Regions from separate parts of the Homo sapiens genome. Here region 2 is linked to region 1. Evidence: promoter capture Hi-C in 16 types of primary human blood cells and fetal thymus (Javierre and others, 2016). All regions are on one chromosome and are shown on one strand. Each heading gives the region's core, a stretch centred on a gene start or on the middle of the fragment in contact. The rest is flanking DNA. Distances are from core to core; before and after follow the strand shown.

Region 1 (4,848 bases), core at 1,751-4,250:
TTATTTGCCCTGCCTGCTTCACAGGTAGTTGAACACTAAGAGAAAATATATATGTGAGATTGTTTTGTAAACTGTTTAAGCACTTTGCAAGTATAAGGCATCATCTAGGACTGGTCTCCAAGTGATGCATTCTTGCTTTACTCTCTTTTGCTTTTCTTTCTCCCAATGGAAACCAAGCAGATCCTTTCAGAGTTCTTTATCTGCAAAAATTGATAGGGTATTTTTTGAGGAAGAGGGGAGTAGCTTATGATTCTGTTTCCTTAGTAGTAGCAAACCTTTTCCTGTAAAGACCAGATGTGAAACTCCTCTTTTTTTTGTTTTTGAGATGGAGTCTCACTGTGTTGCCCAGGCTGGAGTGCAGTGGTGCAATTTCGGCTCACTGCAACCTCCATCTCCCAAGTTCAAGCAATTCTCCTACCTCAGCCTCCAGAGTAGCTGGGACTACAGATGTGTGCTACCACGCCCTGCTAATTTTTTATATTTTTAGTAGAGATGGGATTTCACTGTGTTAGCCAGGATGGTCTCGATCTCCTGACCTCGTGATCCACCCACCTCGGCCTCCCAAAGTGTTGGGATTACAGGCGTGAGCCAGTGCGCCTGGCCCTAACTCCTTTCTTTAGATGGAATTTAGACCAAAGAAAAACATTGATTTCTTATTCCACCCATTCAGTAGGAATTGGCAATTCAGTAGGAATTGTTTAGAATTGTGTTGTACAAGAATCCAGTGGATTTGGCAGGAAGAGGTGAAACACTGTGCTTTATCATCCCAGGTTCTCATTCCTTACCATTCCTGCCTCCTCTCATTTTGAATGATGTGAAACGATGTAAGAGAGACAAGAGGCCGGGCGCGGTGGCTCATGCCTGTAATCCCAGCACTTTGGGAGGCCGAGGCAGGCAGATCACATGAGGTCAGGAGTTCAAGACCAGCCTGGCCAATATGGCAAATCCCCGTCTCTACTAAAAATACAAAAATTAACCGGGTGCGGTGGCACAAACCTGTAATCCTAGCTACTCAGGAGGCTGAGGCAGGAGAATCGCTTGAACCCAGGAGGCAGAGGTTGCAGTGAACCAAGATTGCACCACTGCACTCCAGCCTGGGCAATAGAGCAAGACTTCCGTCTCAAAAAAAAAAAAAAAAAAAGAGTTATACCCATAGGAGTGTCTTCTGTTACAGACTGCTAAAACAGAACAGTTCTGAGACAATATGTTTTCTCTACCCATTTGTAATGGCTGCAAGAAGTTTAGCATCTTTTCAGACAGTCTCTCTAATACTCGGTTCCAAAAGACCACATGTGAAAGACCCTTCAGTAGAACACTGCTAGAAATTTTACTTCTCTGTTTATACTCTGTTGCTTTGTGAGTTTACCAAGTTTGCTCCTGAGAGTGGCATCTTATTTTGAGAATGAGAGCATGTGAGGGTAGCCCTTAGCAATGTCAAAGCACTCGATAAAATCAAAATGATGTGGCCCAGCACAGATGGCTCACACCTGTAATCCCAGCACTTTGGGAGGCCGAGGCTGGTGGATCACCTGAGGTCAGGATTTTAAGACCAGCCTGACCAATATGGTGAAACCTCGTCTCTACTAAAAATACAAAAATCAGCCAGGCGTTGTGGCGTGCGCCTGTAGTCCCAGCGACTTGGGAGGCTGAGTCAGGAGAATTGCTTGAGCCCAGGAGGCAGAGGTTGCAGTGAGCCCAGATCACGTCACTGCATTCCAGCCTGGGCAACAGAGCAAGACTCCATCTCAAAAAAAAAAAAAAAAAAAATCAAAGTGATGTATGTAAGATCAAATGAGAACTCATGTGCATACAGGTCCCACAGTTTCAGGGGCATATTTCTTTTTTTCTTTTTTTTTTTTTTTTTTTTTGAGACGGAGTCTCGCTCTGTCGCCCAGGCTGGAAGTGCAGTGACGCGATCTCTGCACACTGCAAGCTCCGCCTCCCGGGTTCAGGCCATTCTGCTGCCTCAGCCTCCATAGTAGCTGGGATTACGGGCGCCTGTCACCACGCCCGGCTAATTTTTTTGTACTTTTAGTAGAGACGGGGTTTCGCCGTATTAACCAGGATGGTCTCGATCTCCTGACCTAGTGAACCACCCGCGTCGGCCTCCCAAAGTGCTGGGATTACAGGCGTGAGCCACCGCGCCCGGCCTTCCAGGGGCATATTTCTATAAGTCCCTACTTGGATGTAGCTAAACTCCTCCCCCAGTCTTGGAAGTTAGGACGGTCTAAATCTGTGTCAAAGCTCAGAGCTGGCAAGAGCGAGTGTTCATTACCTGATGGTATATATCCGCGTTTTGGATACCCCCTCCTGCGCACGCGGGGGATAAGTCACTGAAAAACCTAGTCTCACAGGAGTGAGGCTTAGTTCATCGCTTCCTCATTTCTCAAGCTCTGCATAACCTGGCTTGGACAAACCTGATAGGTTTCCACAAACGGCTTCAGCTGTGGATGAGGAAGGCTTCGGGGGAAAAAAAAAGATACTGAGGGGACAAGATCGTTTTCATTAGTTGAGCTATTTTCCTTGTTTTACAAATAGTGGGGAGCAAAGAAAGGATGGGCTTCCCCTTTGCAGCTTGTTGTCTGGTGCCCGAGAGGCCAAAGTGAGGGGCATTTGAGATGTCGTCCAAGAAAAGTGCGAGGCGGGTTTTCCATTAGAAGTCCTACCACATGAAATGAGAAAAACACAATTCTCAGGAACAGCCAAGTTTGCCTTTCTCTGGTCCTTCATTGTTGAAGCCACCTGCTTCCCCCTCCTGCTGCGGGGGCGGAGGCTGTAGGCGGAAGCGCTGCGCGGCGGGAAAGACAACGGGAACTGAGAACCGCTCTCGGCGCGGCGGCGGCTGCTAGGGCCTGCCGCAGCCGCGGCCACTCGGAAAGGGCGGGACTTCCCCGCAGGGCGGGGTGGGGCGGAGCGCTCTATCAGTCCTCCCGGTCGCCCCACTGCGCATGGCACGTTGCGTACTCCCCTCCCAGCAACCGGTCTGGCGGCGGCGCGGCAGTAAAACTGAGGAGGCGGAGCCAAGACGGTCGGGGCTGCTTGCTAACTCCAGGAACAGGTACCTGCCTGGCGGGGTGCCTGGTACGCTGCCGGGGCCAGTCCCTCCTGGCTCTGCCACCGATTCCATCTCCCCAGGCCCGGGCCTTCGTCGGAGCGGCCATCCTGGGCTCACCTCACCCTCCACGGGCCCCCTTTTTAACCCGCGTCCTCGACTCCCGCAATGAGGCGCCGCAGCCCGAGAGCAGAATAGGCTTGGGCCTGGCGGGGAGACGCTGAAGCGGAGTTGCCGGGCGAGAGAGGCGGGCTCCTGCTTTCCCCTTCCTCCCCACCCCCTAGGACTTCCAGGTGGGGAACCTAGGGCTGGGTGCCGGTTTGTCCTGTTCAGGCAGAGTGGCGGCCGACCCCGGTCCTGGGCTCCCCGCTGTCCCCAGCCGCCGCGCACTTTGGGCTGACAGGCAGCGGGTCAAGTCCTCGTAAGGACACAAGATCCAGATGACTCCCAGAATCGGCCTAAACGAAGAGCTCATTGTCTTTTTGTTTTCCAGAAATGTTTTTTGGGTGCCTGCAGGGGATTTGGGCGCCGGAGATGGGGGTTGGGGATAAGGAAGAGAGCTCGAGGGAGGGGCAGTGGGTAGGTAAAATTGTTCATAGTTCTCAGGAAATAGGGAACTAACCTCTCTGCCCAGCCTTCTCCTGTATCCTAACATACTTTAACTTGACTTTCCCGGAGAAAGAGCCGTTGGAATTTGCCCTTTTCTTATTGTAATATCTGTTCAAGTAGAAGCATGTTCCAATACGTATATGCGACGTTAAGACAATTCTTCATTGACACTCATACCTTCCTGAAGACACCCAGGACTGTTTCTTGTCCCTGAGAGTTAAGGAAGAAACCAAATTTGATCACCTGCCAAAAGCCTGTGAATTCAGCCTTTAGTTACAGTGCTGAACTGGTCAAATCTGTCCCCTACTTTTTAATCAGATTTCTTAGAGGTGTTTTGGCTGGAATGCAGTGTTTATAGTTGTGGCCCCAGAAATGGAGGAAGTTTACTCTGGTTTTTAGAGCGCAGGCTTTGGAACAGATTTAATTAGTCCCCTACCACTTATCTGTGTGACTTTGGGCATTTAACCTCCCTGCACACCTGAATTTCCTGATCCGTAAAACAGAGATGATAATACTTGTGAGCTGCTCATGAAGCATTTAGCACAGTGCCTGACACGTAGGAAGTTTGCCATAAATGTTTGCTGGGTTTATTATTTTCTCTCTTTATTTTTATTTTAATTTTTTTGAGATGGAGTTTCGCCCTCGTCCCCCAGGCTGGAATGCAATGGCGCGATCTCCGCTCACTGCAACCTCGGCCTCCTTGGTACAAGCAGTTATCCTGCCTCAGCCTTCCGAGTAGCTGGCATTACAGGCACCCCCCACCACACCTGGTTAATTTTTGTATTTTCAGTAGAGACGGGGTTTCACCATGTTGGTCAGGCCGATCTCTGAGGTCCTGACCTCAGGTGATCCACCAGCCTCGACCTCCCAAAGTGCTGGGATTACAGGCGTGAGCCACCGCGCCCGGCCAATAAAGCTATTTCTATGTCTGTCCACTAGTAATATTGCTTTGTTGTGTGTGTGTGTGTGTGTGTGTGTGTGTGTGTGTGTATATATATATATGTATGTGTATATATATATGTATGTATGTATATATATATATATATATATAGTGTTAAATGTTTCTGATAGGCTGGGTACCGTGGCCCACCTCTGTAATCCCAGCACTTTGAGAGACTGAGGCAGTAGGATTGCTTGAGCTCCGGAGTTTGAAACCAGGAACAGGTACCTGCCTGGCGGGGTGCCTG
Region 2 (4,876 bases), core at 732-3,231, 320 kb after region 1:
TATGACACTCAGTGATGTATCAGGATCTAAAAAGTAGATGTCTCCAGAACAGACTTCCTATAGCCTTTCACTGAGAATCCAGAACAATCTTTTTTGTTTTTCTATGTATTCATTCCCTCCCCCACCCTGGAAAAGCAGCAGCTTTTAGTGGTTAATTGTCGGCTAAAAATCTAGAGAATAACTCTCAGTGAATTCTCTTAATAGCCACAATTCTCATCTAATTTCCTTGGCTGACTGCAATATTTAAAGGGCTGGCTGTTTTTGACATGTTCCTACAATGCCTCTTGGAAAATCAATGTAGTGACATTTTACATAATTATATTGGGGTTTTCTTCCAATTTAGCACTTAATTCTTCTCTCTCTGATCCTTTTACCCCCTAGGAAGACCAGCAATAATCCTAATGCACACTGCAGACCTGGTGGCTGCAGGGCGCTGGCGGTCTGGGGAGGGGCCACAGCATGAGAATGCGCTGCGGCTGGCTGTGTGGGTGACACTGGCTAAGGATGCAAAGGCAAAGGGGCATCGCACTCTTTCTAAAGTTTCTAGAAGAAAACGAACAAGAACACCTTATTTTTTAAAAAAGGAAAAAGACAATTACACAACAAGAACATCAGTGAAAGCGATTGTCTCCTGGAAAAAGCTGACCAGTGTGTCTGATCTCCCTGGGTTAAAGCACACAGCACGAAAATCTCCTCGTTGGCATCTGAAGAGAGGGAGAGAGCATGTGGCTGGGCACAGACAAGAGAAACTGAAGTCCTGGCTCCCGGGAGGCCGCTTCCCAGTCGGCTGCATGCAAAGGATTTCAGCATGTGGGCTGCCACCTCTGAACACCACACAGAAACTACATGAGAAATTAAGCCAGAGAACTACCTCGAATGTGGAAACCAAGCCTGAAAATGTGCAGTGAAAACATATGGGTCTCACTCCAACAAAACGTCTTTTAAACATTAGACTCCACGAACGGTCTCTTTGGTTTGATAGGGGATGTCTGCCCTTGCCGAGAGTCTCGGGACAGCTGCCTGTACAGGTTGTCCTGGTATGCCTGAGCCACAGGTAGAGTCCGAGCTACCTTCACGTCGGGATAGGAGGAGGCCTGGCTGACTCGCTCCAAGAGGTCTCCACGAGACCCGTTAGCCAGCATCCCATGGGGGCTGTAATAATCGTCCTCCAGCAAATGGCCATTCTGTGCATTGTTGGTTTTGTTATAAAAGGCAATGTTGCTGATGGATGATGGTGGACTGAAGGACTCAGGCTGAGGCAGGTTGCCTGGAGACGTGGGACTGAGGACGGTGTCCACAGATGACACTGCCCAGGTCCGATTCTGCTGGTGGAGGTGGGGGTACTGCTGAGTCCGTGCTGTTTTATCTATGATCCCCATGAATGGTGTGGTCCTGGATCGGGTGGGCTCACTGGGGTAACCTCCTTGAGTTGGAGACACTGGCGACAGCTCGTCACATGACCTCTCATATGCAGGTTTCAGTGGGATCTCCATTTGCTGGATGGAAGAAGATGGCCGGAAGGTCGGAGTTAGGTTGGAGGTGGAGGAGATACTATTGCTAGATGGAGAGAAGCGAAGGCCTACACTTTGGGAATGCAGCAACGGCCTGGGAGTTGGCGGGTGCGGTTTGATTTCGTTAGGGTTGACACTGATAGGTCTTCTGATTAAATGCGACACATCAGGGGAACCTAGTTGGCTGGAGGAGCGCTCCAGATCTAGTTTTGAGTGACAGACTGGGTAATAGGATGCTGACTGGCTGCGTCCGATCTGTGGTGTCTGGCTGTATCTCACGCCACCTCGGTATGCTGAGGAAGGTCGCTGTGGAAGATCCTCTTTGGTCAATCCTCCATGCTGACAGATGGCGCCTGCACTCAGGCTGGCTTGGACATGCTGCACCGGCCTTCCATCCCCTACGATTCCCCCAATTGACCCTTGATAAACCAACCGGCTCTGGCTGACTCCTATGTCTCCTTGTGAAGACTGGTATTTACTGGCCATTGAATGGGCTACTTGGCCATAGGCTCCTGTGGGGATGACGGTGCTTGAATGGACGGCTGGGCTGGGCTGGTTACTTCTCACAATCTGGGCCTTGGCAGGCTGTAGCCTGAGCCCTTGCTGGGGAACTGCCACAGGGAGCTGAGGCATCTGGTAGGGCCGCTGGGCCATTTTGGATAATGGAGATTTGGGTCTGCCAGGAAGCTGACTGACGCTTGTTTCCTGCTGATAGCGCACGGGTGAACCAGACTGGGATCTATAGACACTCATACTTTCAGCTGGAGGGCTGGCCCGATACTGAGGGCCTCTCCGGAGAGGGGAAGGGGGAGGGCTTGGGTATTCTTTGCCCTGTCCTCCCACAGGAGGGGGGCTGAAACGGTAAGATCCTCCCTGATGAGCCGGGGAAGTGTGTGGTGGGCTAGGCCTGTAATGTGAGTTCTGATGAGTTGGAGAAAGGGCAGGTGAGGTGGACTGATAGGTCTGTCTAGTGGGAGAGCCTACAGAACTACTGGACCGGAAGTCAAAAACCTGATGAGAGCCAAGAGGTGAGCTGGAGATGTAGGCTGAGTCCCGATGCGGGGGAGAGGAGGGTGGGCTCTGGATGACCGGGAGCCCCTGGCTGGGCCGGGCCTCTGTCTGGAGGCCAATGGAAACATTTTCAACATCCTGTTCCAGGTACTCCTCCTCGAATATATCCTGTACAGAGTATATGTCTTCATGCTGTGGCTCAGGTTCTGCTTCTTCCGGCAACTGCTGCTGAGGCTGCGGTGGCGGCGGTGGCTGCTGTGGCTGCTGCATCTGTCTACACTCTTCTTCCACTCTCAGCAGAAGTCTCTGGATCTCACGGTTGTTGGGACACAGCTTGATGGCCTCGTTCAGGTCCTCTAAGGCTGCTGCGAACTGTCTGCTTGACAAAATGTGAACACAGGAACTGGAGTTATTCTGAATCCAGAGAAATCACCAAGAGCTGAGAACATGGTCACTATCTCAGAGAGCTGTGGTGGCGTCTGTGGGAGTCTGGGGTATTTCGGTTTAGTTGGATTTATAGGGAAGGAAACAGGAAGACTCATTCTGGAAGAGTCCGAATGATTCCCTAACCCATTCGGCCTCCATCTTCCTTCTGGCCTCTCTGGGAATAGTGGAGAAATGCCCCATTTTGTCAGTCCAGCCAGGCCCTTCGGGAAGTTGTTTTGGTGCCCAAACACACACCAGGCAGTATGAGAGTTGGGTGGGGTTGTCATTTACAGGGTCACTGTCAAGTAGCTTAGGAACAAAAAAAACTACATATTTAAAAATCTTGCTGATCCAGCAGAAATTTTTCTTTATATTCTCAATATTTTAGCTCCAAATTTCAGGCCTGTTCTACTCTAGGCAAGAACCCTGTCCTCTGCCCTTTCTAACCCTCATCTCTCAGAATTGCTGTGTCTCCATTTGCTCTATCAAAGTGGGGCAGGCATTAGGCTTGCTGACTAGGTCACTCGGGGCTGGAGCTGAGCTGACTCCAAGGAGACTCTAATTTACAAATGAAGAAATGAACTGTCAGAGACATTCCCATCTTCTCTACTAATATCACCTGACAGGGGCAACTGACCTTGTGAAAAAGGAACTACCCAGAGGGAAGGAGAATTTCAGTCAGATTTCTGTGAGGACTTCGTTGCCCCAGCTAGGTAAGAGTGCGATCACTGCCACCACCATCACTAGCCTCAAGCTGGGTGTGATTTTCGGGACCATGTGCCCCTGGCCATAGCAGTGAACCTGAAGCAGTTCTTTCCCATGCAGCTGGGGAGGAGGAGGGCAGGAGGCATAAGAGACAGTGACAAGTTACACAAAGATCACTGATGGCAGGTTCTAGGTTATTCTGGGAGCTTTTCTGCCCAGTGGCCAAACTAAAGCAGATGGGCACAAGGAATGTGGAATGGTGTTCTCTTAGAGGGTCCTCTCCATCCTGGCAGCAAGGACCTCTTGACTCTGTGTGTGTGTGGTGGGTGATGGTTTAGGTGGAAGGGGGTCTGATGCCACCAGACTTGAGGAGAGCCCCAGAGGGAAGACTAACTAATCCGGGATTCCTCAAACGCCTATGGGAGAAGGAAGAGGAACCTGTGATGTTAAGTGAACCATCCTACTTTCCCTCTAAAGCGGGGGTGGGGTGCTCTGCTTAAGTGATTTCTTTAAGTCGCCGTTGTCTCTTTGTGCTAGCTGCTCTGGGGGTTGAAAAATGCCTGAGATACGGCAGAGGCTTCTTGGAAGAAGCTGCCATTCTCCAGTGAAAAAGTGTTTTTCTCCCGAAGTGAAACATTCGTGGCCTCCACAGCCCAGCAGATTTGCTGATCTTGAGCTGAGGGCTGTGCTATGGGAGCCATCCCCAAAGCTTGGCCCTGACAGTTCTCAAGGACAGAGATGTATTTGGGTACATATGCCCCAGGGTGGCCGACGCTGCCTTGGCCAAATTTTCAGAAAAGAGACCTCTTGCTTTCACCCTCTCTCTCTCTCCTCACCTGCTGCTGCGTTTTGCCCTTGCTCTCGCATAGTAAGCTTCATAAGATTTCGGTTTCAGCTCCAGGGCCTTAGTAGCAAATTCCTCCGCCATTCCAAAATCCTGTCATTACAATAGGTGTGCAAATGAGTCATTGATGAGATATAAAAAATAGACAACTTGGGAATAAAACAAATTATTTGTACATTTTTTGACATTCATGGATGGAACGCCTGGGACGCTAGACGTGCCTGACATGGCTCAAGCCGCGTGGCCTGTGGACTGAAAGTTCCTTCTGCCTTTGTCCTGTGTAGCGCTGCGACTGCTCACTGGACTTTATCTGCCCAGAATATTAAAATAGTTTTAATTTTCCCTCTTTTTGCCTTTCTAATAAAGTTCTCAGCCCGGA

The links. Contacts are between HindIII fragments. The CHiCAGO score rates a contact against its expected background, and 5 or more counts as called.
Region 2: a fragment that was not itself captured here is called in contact with the fragment with the promoter of STRADA in region 1 in 1 of 17 cell types (naive CD4 T cells); the score reaches 5.0 in naive CD4 T cells.

What each region holds. Positions count from the first base shown.
Region 1 is chr17:63,739,951-63,744,798 of GRCh38, reverse strand. STRADA (STE20 related adaptor alpha) reads left to right here and starts at 3,000. Exons shown (of 13, transcript NM_001003787.4): 1 at 3,000-3,058. RefSeq lists silencers at 2,718-2,837, 4,341-4,509 and an enhancer at 4,375-4,848. The HindIII fragment of the contact is 6,891 bases long and covers 1-4,848 here.
Region 2 is chr17:63,418,021-63,422,896 of GRCh38, reverse strand. It overlaps TANC2 (tetratricopeptide repeat, ankyrin repeat and coiled-coil containing 2), which reads right to left. Exons shown (of 28, transcript NM_001394998.1): 27 at 4,490-4,590; 28 at 1-2,898. The coding sequence ends at 942. Among named protein-coding and RNA genes, the nearest start is that of CYB561, 26 kb to the left of the region's middle. The HindIII fragment of the contact is 4,766 bases long and covers 1-4,364 here.